Regions from separate parts of the Homo sapiens genome. Here region 2 is linked to region 1. The links are contacts of gene promoters, found by promoter capture Hi-C in human tissues and cell types (Jung and others, 2019). All regions are on one chromosome and are shown on one strand. Each heading gives the region's core, a stretch centred on a gene start or on the middle of the fragment in contact. The rest is flanking DNA. Distances are from core to core; before and after follow the strand shown. Region 1 holds the start of ELK1 (ETS transcription factor ELK1). Region 2 has its middle 14 kb from the start of SLC38A5.

What was found. Contacts are between HindIII fragments. The study calls those that stand out against the background at their distance.
Region 2: a contact is called between a fragment that was not itself captured here and the fragment with the promoter of ELK1 in region 1, in 1 of the 25 tissues and cell types used here (aorta).

Annotation. Positions count from the first base shown.
Region 1 is chrX:47,648,158-47,652,016 of GRCh38, reverse strand. ELK1 (ETS transcription factor ELK1) reads left to right here and starts at 1,454. Exons shown (of 7, transcript NM_001114123.3): 1 at 1,454-1,594; 2 at 1,991-2,096. It overlaps UXT (ubiquitously expressed prefoldin like chaperone), which reads left to right. Exons shown (of 7, transcript NM_004182.4): 7 at 122-221. The coding sequence ends at 175. RefSeq lists a silencer at 1,270-1,679 and a cis regulatory region at 1,011-1,991. The HindIII fragment of the contact is 8,740 bases long and covers 1-3,859 here.
Region 2 is chrX:48,454,006-48,458,049 of GRCh38, reverse strand. No RefSeq gene overlaps it. Among named protein-coding and RNA genes, the nearest start is that of SLC38A5, 14 kb to the left of the region's middle. The HindIII fragment of the contact is 4,106 bases long and covers 412-4,044 here.

The DNA.
Region 1 (3,859 bases), core at 205-2,704:
GCGAAAGAAGGGAAGGACCATCTTTCCCTCTAAACTGGAGTCAAGGGAGGGAGGTCAGAGCAAGCCTGGGGGCGTAACCCAGACCCAGTCTTTGTTCAATCTCTTCTGTCCTCTTTTTCAGGGGCTTAGAGAACTACAAGGCCTGCAGAATTTCCCAGAGAAGCCTCACCATTGACTTCTTCCCCCCATCCTCAGACATTAAAGAGCCTGAATGCCTTTGAGTCACATGGCCCTTCTTTTTCCCCATAAACCCTGCTAGTTGCCACGGGGGCCTGTTCCTAGGGCACAAAGTTACTGAGAGACCCAGAGATCCAGTCTCTCTGTGGAACCTCCAAAATGCCCCAGCAGTCCTGCCTCCAGCCTGTTGCCTGGCAGTATTTGCCAGTTGACCTTATGCACTGCCCTCTCTTCTGTCATCTTGGCAACCTGGGCCCCCCACCTCACCCTTTCTTCCATTCCTTTTCCTAGACGCCACCCTTTGAATTGCCATAGAGAATGGGCCAATTCATGGTGGAGGTTTGTTCATTCCCACAACAATCAAAGGGCCCTAAGGTTTACGCTTTCACACACCCAATCATTCCCCAGGTACCCCAAATTACACCCAAACCCTAACTCAGCCCTACCTTGTCTTAGCCCCTGCTTGTAAGTGTTCCAGCTTCCAATGGGCACAGACCTGGATCCCGCTCTCCCTAGTCGGGCCCCTATTCTAGGTTGAGTCCAGCCACCGCCAATCAATGCAGAGCCAGGTTCCTCCCCTTTTTAACTCTGGCCGCAGTTCAACCCTGCCCTCTGAAAGCATTTCGTTTCTGCCACTCAATGCTCTTTCGTGTGCCTGACAGCCATCCTGCCCTCCTACCTCCGCTGTGTTCTAAATTCGTCTTTACCCAGCTCTATGGTCTTGTCTAACCGTAGAGCTGCCCTGCCCGCCTACGCGGAGCCCAGTCCGACCCACTCCCGCCGGCTGCTACGCCCATTTCTATACAAGCCCTGCTTCCGCTGAGCAGCATGGCGTGCGACACCGCCCCCTTGGTGTTTTGGCAGGGGTCTAGAAGTCCCTCGTCCGCCAATCAGAGAAAAACAGGGCCACCCACCCCCGTCCTTGGGGGCTGTCTTCCATCAATCCCATGTAAGCCAATCAGTGTGAGGCAGACCCCCGCCCCCCCGACACAGGCCCCGAGCCTTTTCAGTTGCTCACAGTCCGTCAGTCCTTGAGCCAATCGGCGTGGAGCACCGTGAAGGCCGAACGCGCCTCCTCGGGACTCCAGGGGCCGTGAGCGTTCCATCATTTCCCCTTACGCCAATCACGGCACAGCTCTGTAGGGAAGGGCCCGTCCCCCAACCCCTCGAGGCCTTGCGGCCGATTAATAGCGCTTTGGCCAATCAGCGAGCGGCGGGACATTGGGCTCCTCCTCCTCGGGCCCACGTGAGCTGTAGGGAAACGCAGGGGCGGCTTCTAGGTGCTGCCGCCGCCACCGCCACCACCACCTCCACCGCCGCCTCGGAACCCAGGCCTGGGGGGCGGTGGGGCCGCGTATGGAGCCCCCGCCCCCCGGAGCTGCCAACATTGCCAACGCCACCGCCACGCTACACACAGGTGAGCTCTGGGCCTGGAGGGTGGAGGGCCCAGTCCGTGACCCCACGTATCCTTCCCGCCCCCGCGCAGAGGATGTGGCTTGGCCGGTGGCCTGCTGGTGTTCGACTCCCCGCCGCCACCACCACGGCTGGTGGACCTGCGTGTGGCATTGCTCAAGCCCTTCGTCCCTTATAGTGGATCTGACCGTGGCCTAACCTCCCCCTCCCGTTGTATAATGGATCGGTCTGCGTGCTTATGTTTTTCCCCACGCCAACTTAGGGTGGACTCGTCCATAGGCTTTCCCCCTACCCCTACCCCCACCCGCCCCCCACCCACCCCCACTTATAGGGAGCTAGCCTGTGACAGTGTTCAGCCCCCTTAATAGTAGGTGTATCTGAGTGTTTGGATTTCTCCTAGCCTCAACTTTCAGGAGACCCGTCCGTGGCCTTATTTATTCCACCCTTCCTGTACATCGTAGCGAATCAATCCGTGGCGCCGCACTCCTCCGCATCCCTCTTTAACAGTGAGTCTACCTGAGTTTGTATTCCTGCCTCCTCCAGTCCCCCAATGCATCAGTCCATGGCTTTTTTCAAAACCACCCCCCCCCCCCACCACCACCACCACCATTTTATAGTGGATCAGTCTTCATGTTTGGATTCACGTCCCTTTAGCTATCAGTCCATTGCCCTGTCTCCTCTTTTTCGTAGACTGTCGCTCTAGCGCTTGGGGTTCTCTCCTTTTTAATAGTGGGTTAGTTTAGTGCTTTACATCTCCCTATTTTCAGTAGCTCAGTCCATAGCCTTTTCCCTCTCTGCTTTGAATCAGTCTGTGTGATGGCTTTTCTCTCCTCTCACTGTGGTGCAGGAGTCTGTAAGGTTTTCTGCTCCCCTTCCCCTCAGACGATGAGCCTCATCACCCCTCCCTTTGCAGTGGATCTGTTCATTGGCCTTCCTCCCCCACACCCCTGTATGCTTGCACAGTCCCCCGCATACCCTCCCGTGAGTCCAGTGCTTTGTAATTGGGGGAAGATCGGCCGTGTACTTTCAATTTCCTTCTCTTTTTTTTTCCCTTCCCAGAAGAGAACGTGCTGATCCTCTTTTCCTTGTGATGGAGCACTGTACGGCCTTCCCTGTCCTCCACCTCTTAATAGTGGGTCAGCCTGGTCACACTCGTAACCACAAAGACGTTCTGCCTCACTACAATAAGTGAATACATTAGCGCCAGTGATGATAGTAATGCCAATAGGAGCTAGCGTTTATTGAGCACCTGCCGTATATCAGGCAGAGTGTTTCATATGAATGAGTTCCTTTAATCCTCACCACAACCCCATGAGATAGGTAGTGAGGGAATTGGGCCATAGGGAGGTTAAATTCCTTACTCAAAGGTGGCCCAGGAAGTACTCAGGACACAGGATAATTTTTGAGGCTCCCCTCTTAGATCTCATCCCACCCCACGTGAGGCCTCAGTCCTTAAAAACCAAATTAGTTCTCACCTCCAAGCTTTTGTTCTTGCTGTTCCCTCTGCCTGCAGAGCAGTCTTCATTCCTCACCTTCTCTCAGCACCCACCCACCCCCCAATCCCAGCAGCTGTGTGACCTTAGATGAGTGATTTAACCACTTCCTCTCTGTGCCTTTTTCTTCATTTGTGAAATGGGGGATCAGAACTAGAATCCCTTCCAGTGTAAATAAATATTAACTGTGAATTAATGGTAAAACAAGTAACCTTTCTAGCATTACCGCCTATACCTTCCCACCCCCTTACTGTGCTCCAACCACACTGGTTCCACCACACAGCTCCTCAAACATAGCAGGCATGGGCCAGCCTCAGGGCCTTTGCATTGGCTGTTCTTTGTGCCTTGAACACCACCCCCAGATCTCTGCATGGTTCCTTTCAGCACTCTGTTCAAATACCAACCCCCAAAGGATGTTTACCACACTGTGGTGTGTGGAATGCAGTATAAAAAGATACATGTATGAAAGATGTTTCTAAGAATGCCAGTTTATATATGAGTAAGGGTTTTCCTCCTTTTCAAAAGGATGTGTTCACAAGACTGAGGTACGTAATATGCTCTGTAAAGGCATAGGTATAAAAGCTGTTTCTAAGAGTGCTAGTTGTATATGTGAATAAGGACTGTGTTGTTGCATTGAAAGAATGTGTTCACAAAACTGTGGTGTGTAGCTGGGCACAGGGGTGTGCACTTATAGTCCCAGCTACTCGGGAGGCTGAGGTGGGAGGATAGCTTGAGCCCAGGAGTTCCAGGCCAGCCTGGGCAATATAGCGAGATCC
Region 2 (4,044 bases), core at 1,215-3,714, 810 kb before region 1:
AAGCCTACTGGGTGCCAGGCACTATTCTAGGTGCTGGGGATATAGCAGTGAACCAAGCAGACAATAGTGCCCTGGAGTTGATGTTCTGACACACGAGTGGGCAAATCCATCCTGCTGCCTATTTTGGTATGGCCCTTGAACTAAGACTGGCTTTCATATTTCTAAATGATTGAAAAAAGGTGGATCCAGCATGGTGGCTTATGCCTGTAATCACCAGCACTTTGGGAGTCTGAGGCAGGAGGATCATTTGAGAGCAGCCTGGGCAACACGGCAAGACCCCATCTCTACAAAAAATATTAAAAGAAATAGCCGGGTGTGATAGTGCAAGCCTATAGTCCCAGCTACTTGGGAGACTGAGGTGGGAGGATCGCTTCAGCCCGGGAGATTGAGGGTGCAGTGAGCTATGATCACGCCACTGCACTCTAGCCTGAGTGACAGAGTGAGACCCTGTCTCAAAAAGAAAAGGGGCTGGGTGTGGTGGCTCATGCCTGTAATCCTAGCACTTTGGGAGGCCGACGCGGGCAGATCACCTGAGGTAAGGAGTTCTAGACCAGCCTGGCCAACGTGGTGAAACCCCGTTTCTACTAAAAATACAAAAATCAGCCAGGCATGGTGGCACGCGCCTGTAATCCCAGCTACTCAGGAGGCTGAGGCAGGAGAATCGCTTGAACTTGGGAGTCAGAGGTTGCAGTGAGCCAAGATCTCACCACTGCACTCCAGCCTCTGTCTCAAAAAAAAGAAAAGAAAATGAAAAAATATTATTAAAAGAAATAATATTCTGTGACACTTGGAAATTATGTGAAATTCAAATTTCAGTGTCTAAATCATTTACATATCAATTTCAGTGTCTAAATTATTTACATATCATTTACAGTGTCTTCTTCATTTACATATTGTTTGTGGCTTTCTCGTGCAGAGCTGAGGATTTGCAACAGAGACCATATGGCCTGCAAAGCCTGAGCTATTAACTCTCTGGCCCTTTTCAGAAAATGTTAGCTGACCTCTGACCTAACAAAGAGAATAAAAGAGAAATCATTCCTCATAAAGATGGTGCAATGAAGAAAATGAGCGATGTGAGAGTGGTGTGGGGAGGTGGTGGGTGAGGAGGCATTCAGCGAGACTTCACTAAGGAGGGGGCAATGAATTTGGTCCTAGGTTGGCTGAAAGGAGCAAGCCTCATGGTTATTTTGGCAAAGGGTGTTCCAGGCAGAGGGAGCAACAGGTGCAAGGGCCCCGAGGTAGGAACGAGCATGGCTGGTCCAAGCAAGAGCAAGGAGAAGCTAGCATGAGTATGTGAGTGCCATTTTCACCACAGCCTTGTCAACAGCCTGAGCAATGCAACAGATTTTTGTCAACCTCATAGAAAAAATGGTATTGCCATTACACTTCACATACGTGTGTGTGTGTGTGTGTGTGTGTGTGTGTGTGTATTTCTAATTCTTTAATTTTTAATTTTTAACTGTTTTTGAGACAGGGTCTTGCTCTGTCATCCAGGCTGGAGTGCAGTGGTGCCATCACGGCTCACTGAAGCTTTAGCCTCCCAGGCTCAAGCTATCCTCCTGCCTCAGCCTTCTGAGTAGCTGGGACTACAGGCATGCGCCACTATGCCTGGATAATTTTTAAAATTTTCAGTAGAAATGAGATCTCTCTATGTTGCCTAGGCTGGTCTCAAACTCTTGGGCTCAAGTGATCCTCCCACCTTGGCCTCCCAAAGTGCTCGGATTACAGGCATGAGCCGTATTTATGAAATAAGGTTTTTTTTTTTTTTTTTTGGCAGGGTTTCACTGTCATCCAGCCTGGAGTACAGTAGTGAGATCACAGCTCACTGCAACCTCAACTTCCCGGGTTCAAGTGATTCTCTTACCTCAGCCTCCCAAGTAGCTGGGACCACAGGCATATGCCACCACACCCGGCTTATTTTATTTTATTTTATTTTATTTTATTTTATTTTTTAGATGAAGTCTTGCTCTTGTCTCCCAGGCTGGAGTGCAATGGCACGATCTCGGATCAGTGCAACCTCTGTTCCCCGGGTTCAAGTGATTCTCTTGCCTCAGCCTCCCGAGTAGCTGGGACTACAGATGTGTGCCACCACACCTGGCTAATTTTTTGTATTTTTAGTAGAAACGGGGTTTCACCATGTTAGTCAGGATGGTCTCGATCTCCCGACCTCGTGATCCACCTCCCGACCTCGTGATCCGCCTGCCTCAGCCTCCCAAAGTGCTAGGATTACAGGTGTGAGCCACTGCGCCCGGCCTTTTTTGTATTTTTTTGTAGAGACGGGGTCTCACCATGTTGCCCAAGCTGGTCTCGAATTCCTGGGCTCAAGTGATCCACCCATCTCGGCCTCCCAAATTGCTGAGATTATAGGCATGAAGCACCGCACCCAGCCTGAAGGAAGCTTTTAGATGTTTGAGAGACATTTGCTTATCCTCCCAGATAATTTTTACGCATTTATAAGCTACTACACATATATATTATTTCCCTGCTTCTATTTACAAATAGGGCAGTTGTCTGTAGTTGATTAATACTATATGCTCCTTGTTTCACTGTTCTTTATCCCTTACTGCCACTAAACTTAAGCTCAACAAGCCATTCTTTTTGAGAATAACGGTAGCCTGAAATTCCAGCACCTGGCCTTCAAACTGCAAGTCTTGGCTGGGCACGATGACTCATGCTTGTAATCCCAGCACTTTGGGAGGCCAAGGCAAGAGGATGACTTGAGGCCAGGAATTTGAGACCAACCTGGGCAACATAATGAGATCCTGTCCCTAAGTTTTTTTTTTAATTAGCTGGGCATGGTGGTGTGCACCTGCAGTCTCAGCTACTCAGGGAGGCTGGGGTGGGAGAATTGCTTGAACTAAGGAGTTCAAGGCTGCAGTGAGCTGGATTGGACCATTGCACTCCAGCCTGGGCAACAGAGTGAGACCTTGTTTCAAAAACAAAAAAAAAAAACAAAAAAAACAAACAACAACAACAACAACCCCCCCCCACCAGAAACCTCATACCCATTAATAGTAACTCCCCACTCCGCCCAGCCTTTGGGAACCATGAATCTACTTTCTGTCCCTACGGATTTGCCTATTCTTGGCATTCATATAAGTGGAATCATACACTGTGGTCTTTTGTGTCTGGCTTCTTTCACTTAGCATATTTTCAAGGTTTATGCATGCCACAGCATGTATCAGTACTTCATTAAATCTTCCGATCCATGAAAAATGGGCTATCTTTCCATTTATTTAGGTCTTTAATTTCCTTCAGCAATGTTTTGTAGTTTTCAGTGCAGAAGTCTTACACTTCCTTGGGATGCAAGTCCTACTTAGGGGATTTTAGTAGTCTTTTGGTGCTGCTATGATAGAATACCTCAGACTGGGTAATTTGTATAGAACAGACATTTATTTTCTCACAGTTCTGGAGGCTGGAAAGTCCAAGATCAAGGCACCAGCATCTGGTCAGCGCTTTTTGCTGCATTCTCATATGGCAGAAGGCAGAAGGACATGAGAGAAGCAACTCCCTCCATCTCATTTATAAGGACACCTAATCTCATTAGGGAGAACCCCTCATGGCCTAGTCACTTCTTAAAGACCCTATCTCTTAATACTGTCACATTGACAACACCTGAGTTTTGGAGGGGACACATTCAGACCATACTAGGGATTAAAAATAACATCTTAATTTTTAGCAATCTAGTTCAGATTGATACCAACTTAATTTCAATACTATACAAAACATTGCTCTTATATAGCTTTGTCCACTCCCTTTACTGCCACTAAACTTAAGCTCAACAAACCATTCTTTTTGATAATAATGGTAACCTGAAATTCCAGCACCTGGCCTTAAAACTGCAAGTCTTGACTCATGCCTATAATCTGGGCACTTTGGGAGGCTAAGGAGGATGACTTGAGGCCAGGAATTTGAGACCAACCTGGGCAACATAGTGAGATCCTGTCTCTACACAATATTTATTTATTTATTTATTATTTATTTATTTATTTATCTATTTATTTAGAGACAGAGTCTTGCTTTGTTGCTCAGGCTGGAGTGCAA